Regions from separate parts of the Homo sapiens genome. Here all the other regions are linked to region 5. Evidence: promoter capture Hi-C in 16 types of primary human blood cells and fetal thymus (Javierre and others, 2016). All regions are on one chromosome and are shown on one strand. Each heading gives the region's core, a stretch centred on a gene start or on the middle of the fragment in contact. The rest is flanking DNA. Distances are from core to core; before and after follow the strand shown. Region 1 has its middle 63 kb from the start of NCK2. Region 2 overlaps NCK2 (NCK adaptor protein 2). Region 3 has its middle 47 kb from the start of NCK2. Region 4 overlaps NCK2 (NCK adaptor protein 2). Region 5 holds the start of ECRG4 (ECRG4 augurin precursor). Region 6 has its middle 25 kb from the start of NCK2.

Region 1 (2,700 bases), core at 114-2,613, 380 kb after region 5:
TCAGTTTCTTTAATGCTTTGGGGCACAGTTTCATGATTTTGAAATCTAAAGAGTTTGGAAACTAAGAGTCTGCAGGAAAAACCTCACAGGATCAAGTGAGAGGCTATTTATTCTCTTTATTTATCCCAGTGACTACAAATACCATATGTTTCAATCCCCATCTATTATGTGTGGCTGAAGTGCTGCCCCACACTCTGCTGCGGGGCTTGGGTAACATACAATATATGCATCCTGTTTCCACTCTAAAATTGGAAAAATTCTGCATTCTGAAACCTATCTTGCCCGTAAGAGTTTCCAAAAAGGGAGTGTGGGTCTGTAATATCTACCTCATAGGGTTGGAAAAGGATGAAGTAAGTGAATACAGATGGTCGCTGACATGATTTTTCAACTTTGTGATGGTGCGGCAGTGATATGCACTCAGTAGAAACTTTGCAATTTGATCTTTTCCTGGGCTACTCTGTGCAATACAATGCCCTCTCACACTGCTGAGCAGCGGCAGCAAGCCACAGCTCCCAGCCAGCCAAGCGATCACAAGGGCAAACCACCGATGCTGTGCTCTACAGTGTACTGTATTCAATAAGGTACATGAGATATGCAAAGCTTTATTACAAAATAGGCTTTGTGTTAGATGATTTGGCCTGACTGTAGGTTAACGTAAGTTTTCTGAGCATGTTTAAGGTAGGCTAGGCTAAGCTATGATGTTCAGTAGGTTAGGTGTATGACATGCATTTTTGACTTACAATATTTTCAATTTATGATGGGTTCATCAGGATGTAATGCCGTGGACAGTACACAGCACCATTCCTGGCAGCCAGTGAGCACTCATGGATGTTAGCCGGGTTATCTCTTTTTCATTCTTCACAGCTCTCAGAGCTCTGTGTAGGTTTGGAAAAGCCCAGGGCCCAGCCCACTCCCCAGAGACAATCACTTTGACCTGTTCTGGTTGTGGTTACCCATGTGGCCACCAACATACCTCTCAATCATAGACTTTGACATAGATTTCTTTGTTTATCAACCCACAAGAATTTTGCTCACCTACACCACAACCTGTTTCCCTCCACTCTCTCCGCAGAGGGTTCTCCCTCTATTCCTTTTTTCTGTTGGTAGCCTTTGCATGTCAACAAACATTCTTCAATCTCAATTTCTTGTCCCATCCACCACAGATGTGACCTCCTGTCTCCCAAGAAGACATGGTATTCGGGGGCCACTACACCCATATTCCCTTTGTCTCTTCTCTAGTTCTTTACCTTCCCCAAAACCGGAGTTTTTAAAAATAGCTAAGACTAAATGTGGGCTTTGTATGGCTAATGTTTTACCTCTATACACTTTTTTTTTTTTTTGAGACAGAGTCTTGCTCTATTGCCCAGGGTGGAGTGCAGTGGGTGTTCTTGGCTTACCGCAACCTCCACCTTCCAGGTTCAAATGATTCTGGTGCCTCAACCTCCCGAGTAGCTGGGATTACAGGCATGCACCACCACGCCAAGCTAATTATTTTTCCCTTTGGCATTTGTAGTAAAGACTGGATTTCATCATGTTGGCCAGGCTTGTCTGTAACTCCTGGCCTCAAGTGATCTGCCCGCTTTGGCCTTCCAAAGTACTGGGATTGCAGGCATGAGCCACTGCTCCCGGCCCCTACAAACTTTTCATTGCTGCTTCTATTATATCTTGTTACTTGTCATTGGTCTATTCAGGTTTTGTATTTCTTCATGTTTCAATCTTGATAGGGTGTATGTTTATAGGAATTTATCAGTTTCTTCTAGGTTTTCCAATTTAGTGGTGTAGAGTTGCTCTGGAAGGCTGTAGGGACAGTGGTGTTCTGCCATTGCAGATAATCCTAGTAGCAGTGACACATTCCAAAGGCTGCTTTGGCCTTATTCGTGAGGCTACTAATGAGAAAGAACCATGGGGTTTTTGAAGTCCAAGTGACCTCTATCATCTTGTAGATGAGAAAACTGAAATTCAAAGCAATCAATGGTTTTGACTCAAATCATGTCACCAAAATCTTTGGTAAGAGCTGAACTGGGACTGGACCCCAGGTCTCCTAAAGCCCAGTGGATGTTCTCAACCCCAGCCTCAATTTCCCCTGCCCATTAGCAAGAACAGGGCTCACTGAGCCAGTAAGCTTCTCACGCATTTTCTAATGCATATCCTAAAGCAACTGTCCTCCAAAATACAACCACAATGGGGCCACTTTTGGTGACCTCTCCAGCTACACCCTGCTCCAAGCACCATCCTGCATTAGCTTCCTAAGGGGTCTCCTGGCTTTCACCCTTCTTCCCTATAGTACAGTCTCAGTGCAGGTACTCTCTTTAAATCCTGCAGTGGAGCAGGCCACTGCTCTGCTCAAGTCTTGCAATGACGTCTCTTCACTCCAAGTCTTGCAATGACGTCTCTTCACTCAAAGTACGAAGGCAGCGTCCTCCTCAGGCCCTACAAGACCCTACTAATCAGGTCTCCTGTTTCCACTTGACCCATTTCCTAAGCTCTCATCTCTGCTCCCCATACTCCGCCCACACTGATGTCCTTGCTTGCCCAGAACTGACCAGGCAGCTCCACCCAGAGTCTCTGCACTTGCTCTTCCCGGTCTTGGCAATGCTCTGCCCTTTGATACCTGCAAGTCCCTCACTGCCTGCAGGATTCTGCTCCAGGGTTGCCTTCCTGCTAGGACTTTCCTGGCCATCTTATTTAAAATTGCACCAC
Region 2 (2,700 bases), core at 170-2,669, 310 kb after region 5:
CAGAGATTGAAAAGAAAATAATGTTCAAAAGGGTCAGCGCACATGTCTGTATTCAGTCTTTTTTGGTCTCACTGTCATATAGGCTGGAGTACAGGGGCCTGATCACGGCTCACTGCAGCCTGGACCTCCCAGGCTCAAGTGATCCTCCTGCCTCAGTCTCCTAAGTAGCTGGGACTACAGGCACTTGCCACCATACCCAGCTCATTTTTTTGTATTTCTTGTAGAGACAGGGTTTCGCCATGTTGCCCAGGCTGGTCTTGAACTCCTGGGCTCAAGCAATCCTCCCACCTGAGCCTCCCAAAGTGCTGGGATTACAGGCATGAGCCACTATGAGCCACTCTGCCTGGCCCAGTCATTTTTTAATAAACAAAATGCATTATTATAAATTATATCTATGTGAATGAATACAACAGAGTCTCTCTCATCTGTGTATAATGGTTTGGGAAGGGTGGAGCAGGAAGTAGTGTCCCCCCACCTGGCCTTCCACCCAAGCCTGGAATCGTCCCATCACTAGGAGGGAGAAGGCAGTGACCAGAAAGAGAAACAGGCTAATGGCCTTAATTCTGACTTTTTCTGTACCCAAGAGAAAGGTGAGCCACTCTTCTCCCTCCCAAAAAAAGATTCTCTGGAAGTCAGTCAGCCAGGAGTTAAAATGACCACTTCAAGACCCTCCCCACGCCAGCTTCTGAGCCAACGCCTGCCCCGTCCATACCACCGCTCCCATACACACCCAAACCTCCCAGCACCCGGGTAGGGCACAACCCTGCTGCCCAGAAGAGGCCCAGTAGGGTGGGCGGGCAGGCACACCAGCATGGCCTCACAGCAGACTCTGGCCCCCATCTATGAGAGGAGAATGCCTTCCTCAGACACTGGGTCGGGACCACTTCCTGAGCCCAGTCACAGACCAGGGCTTCCTCAGGCGGAAGCAGGATGAGGGCCACCCAGATCCCAATCCCAAAGAAACTTCTTCAGGCCACTGCCCTCCCACTTCAACCAGGGAATGTGCCCAAGAGCTAGGGGTGTCCCAAAGCGCAAGGCATGACACATGTAGAAACTATGAAGATTTTTCGGTGATTTTTTATTTGCTCAAACCTGAACACAGTCCACGTGGGGTCTCGGTGTCTCTGCCTCTCTCTCTCTCTCACATGTGACAAAACCATTTTCAGAGAAGCCTGGCATCTAGGGACCTCCCTACTCTGGCCCTGACTGGCCTTTCCACAATAGGGTTCTCAGCTGTAACTGGTTTCTCCCTTCACTGGAACTCTGGGCCCACCAAAAGAAGGATGAAGTTATCCAGAAAGCAAAGACCCTTGGTTGATACAAAGGGAGCCTCAGATGGAGAGATCCAAGAGGTGGTCAAAACTGTGGGAGAAGTGGTTACACGGGGAGCCTTAGAGCTAGGTGCCACCAGCAGGGAAGAGGTGTGAACGGCAAGGATGGAGGTGAGGGCCTGACTCCTGGCCGGCACACCTGGGGTTCAAGTGCTAATCCACAGCAGAGGCTCTCAACTTTGAATATGCATCAGAATCACCTGGGGAACTCGTGCAACAGGAAGAATTCCAGACCAACCTATCCCACGCGGGAAGTCAGGCAGTTCCCCGGAATTTGCATTTCTCCACAGCCCAGGACCACATTCTGGAAACCCCATGCTGGGGCACCATCCTATCCTATCACCTCCTCCGCAACAGTGCCAAGGGGCTGTCTGTGCCACAGTGCCTTCTATCCCCACTGAAAATCTTGGTCCCTTTTGGGAGAATAGATAAATCTGTCAGATAGAATTCTAAATAACTAATGTAAATACAACCCCTACAGGAGGTACAGCTGAACTCCCTCTTCCTTAAATGACCTCCTTCCAAAGACTGCAGCAGTATGGAAAGAAGGGAAAAGAGTCACTTGACAGTGGAGTCACTTGACAGTGGAGTCCCCTGACAAACACTACCTGGGCCAGGTGATCAAGATCAACATCAACCATCATAAGCCACGCTGATCACATGGACCCTTGATACAAAATGGCACATTACCTCGGTGGCCTTCCTCCCCAAACCGGTAACTCTACACTAATCATGAAAAAACATCTGACAACTCTCAACTGAGGGACAGTCTACAAAACACCTGAAAAGCAGTTTTGCTCCTCAAAGCTGTCAAGCCATTAAAAACAAGGCGAGTCTAAGAAACTGTCCCAGATCAGAGGCGCTACGGAGACTAAAGGAAACGTGCCCTGGATGGGATCCTGGGACAGAAAAAGGATGTCAGGGCAAATAAACTATGGACTTAACAATAATGTACCAATACTGGTTCATTAGATGTAACCAATGTACTATAGTAACGTAAGATGTGAATCACAGGGGAAAGTAGACACAGTTTATATCAGAATTCTCTGTATTATCTTTGAAACTTTTTCTGTAAATTTAAAATCTATTCTAAAATTAAGCGCTTACTTAAAAATATATACCATATGTTTTATTATATAAAAGCCTGTATGCATAGGGTAACATGGTTGACTTTCAACAATAACAAATTACACTTTGGAAACGTTAAAACACTGTGCTCAACAAAAGGAAATAAATACCCCTATTGATCAGCTTAATACACGAACGTGAGGGTATTACATGGCTGAAATGCAATACAATTTTCTGCTTTCCCCAGAGAACGTACTATGTGTACTTGAATACGTAAAACGATATACTGCATGTGTTTATA
Region 3 (2,700 bases), core at 145-2,644, 370 kb after region 5:
CGCTTCCTGCACTGAGTGGGAAGTTGGATGAGAGGACTCAGGTCTTTCACTTGTACATGCCTATAGCATCATTGGAGACCGTTGTGTGAAAAAGCTGCCTGGGTCACCAACTCTCATATAAAGTAAAGAGGAAAAAAAATCCCACAGCCACTGGTCTTCAAAGGACAGACATGTGGACCTGGTTGGGATGGGGTTGAGGGCAGACTTAAAAAGCTTCATGCAAAGGCTCATCTGAGATGGGCTTTGAAGGTGGGACTGCATGACATGCTGATGGGCAGGACAGATGGATGTATTCCACAGAGGAGGCAAATCATGTGCTAATGCAAAGTGGCAGGGAACCTGATCTATAGGACAGTGGCCCTCAGTCGTGGCTGTATATGGGAATCACCTGGAGTGCTTTAAACAAGCCATGCCTGTGCTGGGGGCTTCCCCTGCCCAGCCAGATCCTTGCCATTGGCACGGGCTCTGCTGGTGCACAGTCATGCAGTTCTTCCCCACTCCAGGTCCACTGAGTCAGAATCTCAGAGGCTGGGGTTGAGACAGTGATATTTAATTTTTTTTCAAGTTATTCTATTCTGCAGTCAGAGTTGAAAGACTTATGACTTTTGGTACAGCGGGTAGAAAAGTGTAACTGAGGTTCAGGCTACGAGTTAGGAAGATCAGAGAGCAGAATGGAGAAGTGGATTGGGTTCATTTACCTGGGGGCATTTATCCTCATTTTGTTCTAGAAGGAAAAGTCAGGTCAAGAGACTGGTGATTCAGAGGTTGTGGTCAGCATTAAGGGACTCAAGAGATAATAAGGCATCGGGACAGTGTCAATAGGGAGCAGCCCCTCACCCCTAGATCTGGGGAAGGAAGGGGCAGAACCCTGGAGGAGGGGCCAGCCAGCAGGGCTGTGCTCTTGAGGGGATCCAGTCACTGCTCAGTAGCACTGAGCAGGGAAGTTGTGGGCAAGACAAACGCCACCTCTTTCTCTTCTTGTCCATCAATCTCTTGTTGCTTCTTCCAGTTGGTTGAGCCCAACCAGAAGCCACAGGGGAGAAAGCCCAGGCAATTCTGCCCTCAGAGATCAGCCTCCTAGAGCCCTGGGATGAGTATGGGGTGGGGTGGAGGGAGGCAAATGGATTATAACCAGCACAACACTAAAGGCACGGTTGGAAGTTTTGCCTAAATTCAATAGGCAATGGTAAACCGCTGGAGGCTTTTGAGTGGGATTGTGATTAGAGCCATGCTTTTAACATGTTTAAACTGTCATGATATTAAAATTAATGTAAGTGAGGGAAAATATTGGTATGTAGGTTGGTTAAGGCCAGGAGGAAGCAGGAGATTTCCTGCATGCACGCCAGCCTTGGCGCTGCTCTGCCAGGTCAGAGGCTCTCCCCAGGGCTGATAATGATGGCTGGGAGTGTGGGCGATCTGCTGGCAGCTGCCGTGACCTTGGCCTGCCTGTGCAGTTTGAGCTTGCTGCAGATACTCTATTCTGAAGAACAAAGCCCTGTCTGTTAATTATTCTTCCAGTCGCTAAGGGAATTAACCAAGGTTTATGGGATTGATTCAACTCTCATCAACATGAAAGCACTAGGAAAATGTTGGCGAACACACAGGGGCATGTCGATTCTGGATTCCTGCGTGGGACTCAGGAATGGATGGTTCCTTAAGGGATGTGTGGGAGGGGGGTCTTTTCCAACTGAAGCCACCCTGGGAAAATGCAGTGTTGGGAGGAGAATTCTGGTCCAGCAATGTGTCTCTCCACTTTTGAATGAGAAAAACTCCTCTGTAGGCTTTTCAGTAATGAGCATCTATGAATTGGGGAATCAGATTATCAGAACTGAGTGCCTGCGGTTGGGGATCCAATCAAGGCATCTTCTTTTGCCTGAAATGGGCTGGTGAAGTCTATTCATAAAGGAAGAGCTAACATGTAGAAGAGAGGGAAGAACTCCCAATGCTCTTCTTGGAGTAAGAACCAAACTAAAAGGGAATATTATACAGATCCTTGTTTTCGATCAACATGTGCAAAAACTCCAACACTCAAAGTTGCCCAGCAAAGGAAAGGGCTGTCTTATGAAATGGTGAACTCCTCATCTTTTTAAGGACCCAAGCAGATGTCTGGCAGCTACTTTTATGACTGATATTTTGGAAGGCATTCCTGCAAGGGCACTAGAGCAATGACCAGGTTAGGTGACCCTCTGTTAGGGACTGAATTGTGTTCCCTTTCCCATGCCAAATTCATATGTTGAAGCCCTGGGAACTCCTAGTAACTTAGAATGTAAACTTGTTTGAATTAAGGTCTTTAAAGAGGTAATTAAGTTACAACATGGTCTTTTGCATGGGTCCTAATCCAATGTGACTGGTGTCCTTATAAGAAGAGGAGATTAAGACACAGAGGGAAGACCATGTGAAGGCACAGGGGGCCTCAGAAGAAAACAACTCTGTCACCATCTTGGTCTCGGACTTCTAGCTTCCAGAACTGTGAGACAATAAACTTCTGTTGCTTAAGCCACCCAGTCTGGCTAAGACCCCCTCAATCTTTCTAAGAGTCTATTCTTTGACTTGAAAAATATTTAGAAAAGCTTATTCACTGGAGTTCGGAATAACACTACAGGATAACAAGTCCCGGTGTTTAATAAAACAGCAGGAGCCTCAGGCTGCAGTTGCATATTACTTAGCTTCCTAAATAATTGAAATAGGAGGGTATCACCG
Region 4 (2,700 bases), core at 183-2,682, 260 kb after region 5:
GTGTTTTTAAAGTATGTTTAGCTTTAAGAATACTTAGTTCTTAAAGTACAATTAGTTTTTAAATATTCCTAAAATGGTCAAGGTATGTTCATCCACATTCTCCTCAAACGCTGGACCCTTTCATAACTCTTTGCCCTCGCGTCTGCTATTTCCTCCCCGTACTGGGAACATCTTTGCACCTCAGCTTCCCAATGCCATCGTGCAATCAAATCCAACTCACCATTCAGGAAGGAACTCAAACGTGCTCTCTTCTAGGAGACCGGCCTCCGTGCCCATAAAAAGCACTATTTTATAATATCAACTGTCATTTACAAAACTGTCCAGATAGGAAGAGCCTCTGGGAAGGGACTGCAACTTTTTCATGTCCTGATACCCATATGGGGAGGCCCATGGCAGGCTCTGGATAAAATGACTCTTCTCCCCCATTTATGGTTCAATAAACTTCCACTTCCTTAGTTCCATCTATAAGATCAGCTGTGACTATCCAGTACCCTGCAGCAGTTAGTGCCATGTTAGGCCCTGATTGAATCCTTGTCCCCCAGTTTGCAATCTAAGACACACTGAATCCCTAACACCACTGTGCCTCTAGGCCAGGCCATGAATATCAACGTGGAGCCTTAAATACAGATAATAACATACCTATGCCAAAACCAAACAATGGTTCTTACATATCATATTTCTTAATTTCAAGGCTATAAGTTTAGTTTTCTTGAGTATTTCATTCAATAAATAAATTTGCAAGCAGTCAATGAAGAGGGACAGAATCAAAGAGTAATTCTAAATTCTAAAGCTCAGGAGCATATATATGACTTCCTATGGCAGCTGCCCAATTAATGCCATCCATAAAGCCATTCAAATACTGTGTCTGGGCTGAAATCCAATTAAGCCATTTCTGTCTGAATATCCCCAAAGAGCCTCCTGCTGAGCTCAAAGTGGAAATCATCATAAATGCCAGATTAGCTGTGTAAGCATTTCCAAAGCCAAAACCAGACAAGAGCATGAAAACCTACATGCCTAGCCTTTTAACTGGGCACAAAGACAGAAAAGACATTCAGTGACCATCTGGCAAAAAGTCAAACCCATTTTCTCGTCCACCAGGTCTTCTCAGATAATCCTCATCCAGTGCAAACATCAAAGAAAAGCGCTGGTCCGTTCATTTACACACATTTTGAAATGATCAACTTCAGCTTCACAATGAAATTTTGTGCAGTGAGGAAACAGGCCCAGAAAACATCTCAAGCTTTCTCTAGACTCAAAATTTTACTCAACCAACCCCTTACAGAGTACACCCTTGAAATTAGTAAATCCTGAGAGTCGCCACTGCCTCTATGTATATAATTTGCCCCGTAAAAAATGGGCAAGCAAAGCCAAAACCTAACTGAGAGGGAGAGGGATGGCAGAGATGCACTCAACGTGTTAATTTACTCCTCTGTCTTGCAATCCATGACTCAGATTCACAACTCACAAGGCACATGGTATCCTCAGCTTTCATGCAACAGCCAGAACCAGGACTGTTTTAACCACATATTCCAGAAACAGAAAGACTCTGGGCTGACTATTCATTCCAAACGGACCCTACCTGAGACCTACTTAATTAGAACATCTGCAGTTTATAAAAGCTTCTAGGTGGTTATGAGGCCCAGCCCCATTCAGAATCACTACTCTAGAGAAAATAAGAGAAACTGAAGAAGAGCCAATTCCAGAAAGCCTTATTCTCTAAACCCTCATAACTGGACCACAAGTGTGAAAGACGACTAACCTGGGTGTGAAGCTGGCAATGTCTCTGCACATGATGCAGGGGCATGAGGACTTGCTTTGAAACTGGATGCTAATGCCAGTTCCGCACTTTCCTAGCTGTAGAAATTGAAGGCTGCTAATTAACCTCAGAAACTAGGTTTCCTTGGAGACAATAGCAGTCACCTTGTTGGTAGAATGAAATCAGTCACACGTATTCAATGAAAATGTATTGCACAACTGCTGTGTGCAAATGCTGTACATACATAAGGCACAGCACAGAAGTGGCCCTTCTTAAGGAGCTCAGCCTAATTAGAGTTCAAAGTCAAATAGGAGACTACATAGCAGTGCCTATTTATGATATCTGCTGCAAGAAAACGTGCCTATAAAAAACAGCAGCTAAACTTTTCTAGGTAACTTCTAAAACACATGTGTGCTATCTAAAATATCTGCCTTAGAATTTAAAAATTTGATGGAGACAAGCAGAATAAATGTTTATATTAACAACTATCTTAGATAAAAACTAATTTGTGATACAGTAGAAAATAAGCCTAACCTTGCTTTCCCAAGACTGACCTTCAAAGCTAGGGGAACTATAATCTCTTCTCTAAGGAAAACCATCAATTTGAAAAATGACAACAAGGTTTGCTAAACCTCACCATCCCAATATTGCTCTCTTCTAGAAAGACTTCAAGTTAATTCATCCAACAAGTATTTACTGAACCCCTGCTAGCACTGTGCTTGGTGCTATACACACAACAGACATCACTGACACCACCTCACCCCCGAGAAAGCAGCAGATGAAACAGACAACTGGGTGGCAAGCGACAAAAAAGGGGAATTCCAGATGATCAGTCATCATCCATGGCCCATGTATGTGACACATGGGGGCAAACAAGGATGTTGCTACCGTTTGAATATCTGACTCCTTCTCATGTTGAAATCTGATCCCCAGTGTTGGAGGTG
Region 5 (2,700 bases), core at 140-2,639:
GCCCCCCCCCCCCCCCCGGCCTCCCAAAGTGCTGGGATTACAGGTATGAACCACCAAGGCCGGCCCAGATGTGCTTCTTAAAGTGGCAAGAACAAAGAGTGGGAGGCAGGTAAACCATACAACGGGAAATGACTGATTAGCTTCGCCTGTGATTCTAAGGTGGAACAATAATCCTCCCCACCTGAACAGACCTCACCACGCCTCCTGCTGTTTTAGCAACCCCGGGGCTCCATCCCAGGGCTCCTACTGAATGTCCCCTGCCTCTTCTCACCTCGAGTTCAGTTTCCATACCTGTTTCGAATGAGCAAAATACAGAAACTGAGCAACCGAGTGAGCCTCCCTTTTACATTAGGCAGTGCCCAGCTGCTTTGCAGTGGGACAGCGCCAGTCTCAGGCTCTTGGGCAAGTCACTTCATACACCAGTAACTCTGAGGTAACAATCCCTGCCTCCCCTAGTTGTAAGCTTCAAAGGCAGTCATGTGTCCTTGAGGCCACTTGTGAACCATAAATGTTCCTCCTACCCAGTGAAGGTGGTAACTCAGGACAAACCACGGCTTCAGATTATGGTTCCTAAAGTGGGGCCTGTGGAGCCCAGCGATCAGATATCGGAGCACCCATCATTCTGGGTGTGCGTGTGAATGCACGTTTTACAGAGAGCGAGCAGAGAATTTCAGAGTTTTCAACCGATTCGCTGGGAGCTCCACGAAGCAGGAAAGATTAAGCATTACTCCTTTAAGAGCCTTTCCCCTCTCTGGGGTGTGAGGCCTGTGCCCAGCTTTGCAAATTGCAACTTGACCCAGCTGGGAAGCGCAAGTCAACTTGGTTGCTAAGCGACTGCCTGGAAGGGAATGGCGGTGATGGTGCCATTTGCCTCCTCTGGGTTACCAGCTGCGTAAAGCCCCCACAACCCTTTTGCCCCTTACGTTAAGCCACGAAACACTACTTGCCCACCCTTCGGACGCCTGGCCCTCCTTGCCCAAGGTTGCCCGGGAGATCTGAGACCCTCCCCTTGACCCCGGTACTCTCTCCACCCTCACAAGGGCACCACTTCGCACTTGTGCGAGTGCAAAACCCCAGACCCGGTCCTCTACCACCCCTTGGCCCTGCCTAGGCTAAGGATGGGTCCCTACGCCGCCACCCCATCACCGATCGCTCTCCCCGGGCACCATGGAAGCGCCACATGGGGCCAACCCCTGGTGCCGCTATCAATCAGCCTGGCATCGCCCCGCTCACCTGGGCCCCAGCACAGGAGCAGGAGCAGCGCCAGCCCGGTCAGGGCCAGGACAGCAGGCCGCGCGGGGGAGGCAGCCATGGCGGCGGGGCGCGAGCAGGAGGGCGAGGGGCGCACTTCGAGGTGCTGCGAGGGAGAACCGGGCGCGGGAGAGGGGTGCGAGCGGGCAGGCGCGGCCGCGGGTTATCCCTGCGTCGCTGCCGGGGCGGGACCCAGCGGGTGGGCGCCGCGCCAGAGGGCTGAGGGCCAAGCGGCTGCGCCCAGCGCACGGGCGAGTACCACCGAGGTCCTCTCTCCCGCCCCGGCCCCAAGGGGAACGCAGCCCCTGGGCTCCAAGGCCAAGGATGCTTGGCCACGGAGAACCGCCGGCGGCGGGGGCCGCGTGGCCAGCGCTGCCCGCAGCGAAAGCGGTTAGGACAAGCTGGGTTCCGGAGACCCAAGGAAGGGCAGAAGGCATCGGGAGAAGGGACGAGGCCCCCTGGCCACTCAGAGGGAGGACTTGCCGGATCCCAGCGCTGGGGTGTCTCCTTGGCTCCCCCACTTCCTCCGCCCGCCCCAGCCGCGCCACTGTTCCCCTTACTCCTCACCCCTTTCTTCCCTATCTCCCTCCCTCCCTGCTTGGGGGCCTTGCTTCTGCCTGGTTTGTAAAGTGGGCTTTGGAATTTCCTTAGTTCAGAGCTGCTCTTAAGGATGCCTTAGGCGGGGCTGTTTTTGAGATAGTTTGAAAGATTCCACAGTCTGGGTTCAGAGCTGCAGTCCGGGAAATCGTCTCACCCAAACTTCTCCAATAGAAAAGCCTTTGAGAAACCAGGAACCTGGTGCCCTGCAGCTGTGAGCAAAACCACTGCTTCCCTTTGCCCGCTCTGTAATCTGGGCACACTTCAGCGAGCGATGTTAAGGTGAGACCCAAGGGAAACGCAGAACTGCATCCCAGTAACTGGCCTGTTCAACTGTAGAGGACACGTGAAAGGAGGCGTAGTGAACAAAAACTAGAACAACTTTATCCCAACGGACTCTGAGCGGGTCACCTAATTATTCTCTCCAGGCCTGGGCTACAAAAGGATGGAGATGTGAGATTACCTTTCCTGTCTTCCCATCTCAGATCTGCCCTGAACTGAGCTGATTACCTCTTTCCTTCACCAAGGTTCTCACTTATTTTCCCCTCCCTGAGACGGAGTTTCACTCTTGTTGCCCAGGCTGGAGTGCAGTGATGGGATCTCAGTCACTGCAACCTCCAACTCCGGGGTTCAAGCGATTCTCCTGCCTCAGCCTCCTGAGTAGCTGGGATTACAAGGCATGTGCCACGAGGCCCAGCTAATTTTGTATTTTTAGTAGAGAAGGGATTTTACCATGTTGGCCAGGCTGGTCTTGAACTCCTGAACTCAAATGATTCACCCGCATCGGCCTCCCAAAGTGTTAGGATTACAGGTGTGAGCCACCACACCGGCCAGTATTTTTATACCCTCCAG
Region 6 (2,700 bases), core at 174-2,673, 350 kb after region 5:
TTTGAAAATAAAGAAAGTTAATCCCAGATCATTTCATGGCCACAATCCAGCCACTACTATCTTTTTGGCATATGTCTGTCTTTCTTTCTTTCTTTCTTTCTTTCTTTCTTTCTTTCTTTCTTTCTTTTTTTTGACAGAGTTTTGCTCTTGTCGCCTCAGCTGGAGTGCAATGACACACTCTTGGCTCACTGCAACCTCCGCCTCCTGGGTTTAAGTGATTCTCCTGCCTCAGCTTCCCGAGTAGCTGGGACTGTAGGCATGTGTCACTATGCTCGACTAATTTTTTTGCATTTTTAGTAGAGACAGGGTTTCACCAGTTTCACCAGGCTGGTCTTGAACTCCTGACCTCAGGTGATCCGCCCACCTCAGCCTCCCAAAGGGCTGGGATTACAGGCATATTCATTTTGAGTCTTTTTTTCCAAACACATGTTACATTCATGGTCCATTATGTGCCATGGTCTGTGTCCGTGTAAAATTCCTGTATTAAAACCTAATCTCTAAAGTGATGGTGTTAGGAAGTGGGCCTTTGTGAAGTGATTAGGTCATGAGGGTAGAACCCTCATGAATGGGATCAGTGCCCTTATAAAAGAAGCTCAGGAGTGCATTTCTTCTCCCTTCTGCCCTGTGAGCACACAGGGAGAAGGCACCATCTATGAGGAATGGGCCCCCACCAGGCACCGAATTTGTCAGTGGCTCCAGAACTGTGAGATATAAATGTTTATTGTTTTAAGCCAGCTAGTTTATGGCATTTCTGTTACAGCAGCCCCAAAGGACTAAGACATTGCACTTATCTTGCATAGAATTTCTCACCACTTGTTTCACTCAACAATATTTTCTCATGTTACATTCTAATTGTTATAATGACTGCTTGCTGTGTACAATGTGCCACTAAGTGACTATACCAGAGTCCAGCTGCTGGACATTTTTTCTAACGTTTTCACGTAACTTCTTTTGTAATCATCTTCCTGTATATATGTTTTTCCATGTTTGGGAACATTCCCTTATACTAGAATTTTATAAGTGGGATTATTGGACCACGGAAATGATTTTTTAAAAGCTATACACATTTCCAAGTTCCTTTAAAAAACACACAACACAGTCACAATGAATGTACAGATTTCACTACACTGTGATTAGAAGTGGGTAATGTATACGTAATGTTAATTCAATTTTAAAAGTAAAGAATGTTGCCACCTTGTTGTTTTTATTTACCTAACAGTGATTACAAGTGAGAATCACTGAGTTTTTCCCCATATTTTGATGATTAGTTCTATTTTCCTGCCCATGAATGATCTGCTTGTATTCTTTGGGATTTAGCTGTCAAGTTTACAATGTTCTTCTGCTCTCATATGACCTCTTTTTATTTAATAAATATGTTGAGCAATTTTCTATCATTCATCCCAGTCTATCCTTTGCTTTCTTGCCTTGGGTTTTCCATGGAAAGTGCTAAATATTTATATGGTCAAATTTTTCTTTTATGATTTACTGTGTTACTTCTGTGCTGAGGAAACTACAGTTGACTCTTGAATGACACAGGTTTCAGCTACACGGGTCCACTTATATCTGGATATTTTTCAATCAAACCCAGATAGAAAATACAATATCCACGGAAATGTGAAACCCACATAATGCAGAGGGAGGGCCGACCCTTCCTTAAGGTAGGTTCCACGGGACCATCTGTGGAACCTGAGAGTGCACTGAGTTTGTTATATTCAGGGAAGCTGGAACCAACCCCTTGAGTATACGTAGGGACGACTGTATTCCTCCCTCAGGATTTTATTTTATTTTATTTTTGAAACAGAGTTTCACTCTTGCTGCCCAGGCTGGAATACAGTGGTGCGAGCTCGGCTCACTGTGAAGTCCGCCTCCCGGGTTCAAGCAATTCTCCTGCCTCAGCCTCCTGAGTAGCTGGGATTACAGGCACCCGCCACCACTTCCAGCTAATTTTTGTATTTTTAGTAGAGATGGGGTTCCCCTATATTGGCCAGGCTGGTCTCAAACTTCCGACCTCAGGTGATCCACCCACCTTGGCCTCCCAAAGTGCTAGGATTACAGGCATGAGCCACTGTGCCCGGCCAGGATTTTAATAAGTATTATATTCATTTAATGTAAGGTTCTGTGTTTAGCTGCTTAAATTTTCTAAAATTTCAAATGAAATCTAAAGTAGGTGAAGACCCCCTTCTTCCTCCTCCGACTCTCCTCTTAGCCCCTCTGTCACCCTGTCTCATGGGCCTCCACTGTGCCATATCAGTTTTACATCTGCCCAACTTCATCCACTTATTTGAGCAGAGATAGGAACTATTCTGCAGCAGGTGGAGGAAGAGAAGTGCTCAGGGTGACCACCCCTTCCTTTTTTTGTGCTGTCTTAAAGAGCTGATCACGTTGGCGGTGTTATGCTAGAAACCACGGGAATACTCTGGCACAGTCATCTATAGGCTCTGGAGCAGCGCTGGGCACCCTTCTAATTTAGGCAGTGGGAGGGGCAGGAAGTTACAGGAGCTGTGATGTATCCAGCCTGGAAATTATCTTCTGAGTTGCCATTGTGAAAATTATTCAGTCCACGTGGGGGTCACCCTGCTGGCCCACAGCTCTCGTGTCTGAGCTGCTTCCTCTGCTTGAGGGAGGGACACAGTCAGAAAGCCTTCCTGAGGACATCCAGGTTCCCCAGACCTTGTCCTTCAGGGCTCTTTTCTGCCTGTC

What was found. Contacts are between HindIII fragments. The CHiCAGO score rates a contact against its expected background, and 5 or more counts as called.
Region 1: a contact is called between a fragment that was not itself captured here and the fragment with the promoter of ECRG4 in region 5, in 5 of 17 cell types (naive CD8 T cells, naive CD4 T cells, activated CD4 T cells and 2 more). The highest score is 6.9, in naive CD8 T cells.
Region 2: a contact is called between a fragment that was not itself captured here and the fragment with the promoter of ECRG4 in region 5, in 11 of 17 cell types (non-activated CD4 T cells, naive CD4 T cells, activated CD4 T cells and 8 more). The highest score is 20.4, in non-activated CD4 T cells.
Region 3: a contact is called between a fragment that was not itself captured here and the fragment with the promoter of ECRG4 in region 5, in 5 of 17 cell types (naive CD8 T cells, non-activated CD4 T cells, activated CD4 T cells and 2 more). The highest score is 6.0, in naive CD8 T cells.
Region 4: a fragment that was not itself captured here is called in contact with the fragment with the promoter of ECRG4 in region 5 in 7 of 17 cell types (non-activated CD4 T cells, naive CD4 T cells, total CD8 T cells and 4 more); the score reaches 11.8 in non-activated CD4 T cells.
Region 6: a contact is called between a fragment that was not itself captured here and the fragment with the promoter of ECRG4 in region 5, in 7 of 17 cell types (non-activated CD4 T cells, naive CD4 T cells, total CD8 T cells and 4 more). The highest score is 9.8, in non-activated CD4 T cells.

What each region holds. Positions count from the first base shown.
Region 1 is chr2:105,680,419-105,683,118 of GRCh38, reverse strand. No RefSeq gene overlaps it. Among named protein-coding and RNA genes, the nearest start is that of NCK2, 63 kb to the left of the region's middle. The HindIII fragment of the contact is 1,522 bases long and covers 603-2,124 here.
Region 2 is chr2:105,759,235-105,761,934 of GRCh38, reverse strand. All of the region lies in intron 1 of NCK2 (NCK adaptor protein 2), which reads right to left. Among named protein-coding and RNA genes, the nearest start is that of NCK2, 16 kb to the right of the region's middle. RefSeq lists an enhancer at 804-883. The HindIII fragment of the contact is 3,292 bases long and covers 1-2,700 here.
Region 3 is chr2:105,696,726-105,699,425 of GRCh38, reverse strand. No RefSeq gene overlaps it. Among named protein-coding and RNA genes, the nearest start is that of NCK2, 47 kb to the left of the region's middle. RefSeq lists a silencer at 419-598. The HindIII fragment of the contact is 2,357 bases long and covers 216-2,572 here.
Region 4 is chr2:105,802,721-105,805,420 of GRCh38, reverse strand. The region is part of intron 1 of NCK2 (NCK adaptor protein 2); the gene reads right to left. Among named protein-coding and RNA genes, the nearest start is that of NCK2, 59 kb to the right of the region's middle. RefSeq lists enhancers at 2,013-2,062, 2,416-2,700. The HindIII fragment of the contact is 379 bases long and covers 1,243-1,621 here.
Region 5 is chr2:106,064,377-106,067,076 of GRCh38, reverse strand. It overlaps ECRG4 (ECRG4 augurin precursor), which reads right to left and starts at 1,389. Exons shown (of 4, transcript NM_032411.3): 1 at 1,234-1,389. The coding sequence starts at 1,312. The HindIII fragment of the contact is 9,592 bases long and covers 466-2,700 here.
Region 6 is chr2:105,718,969-105,721,668 of GRCh38, reverse strand. No RefSeq gene overlaps it. Among named protein-coding and RNA genes, the nearest start is that of NCK2, 25 kb to the left of the region's middle. The HindIII fragment of the contact is 6,677 bases long and covers 1-2,700 here.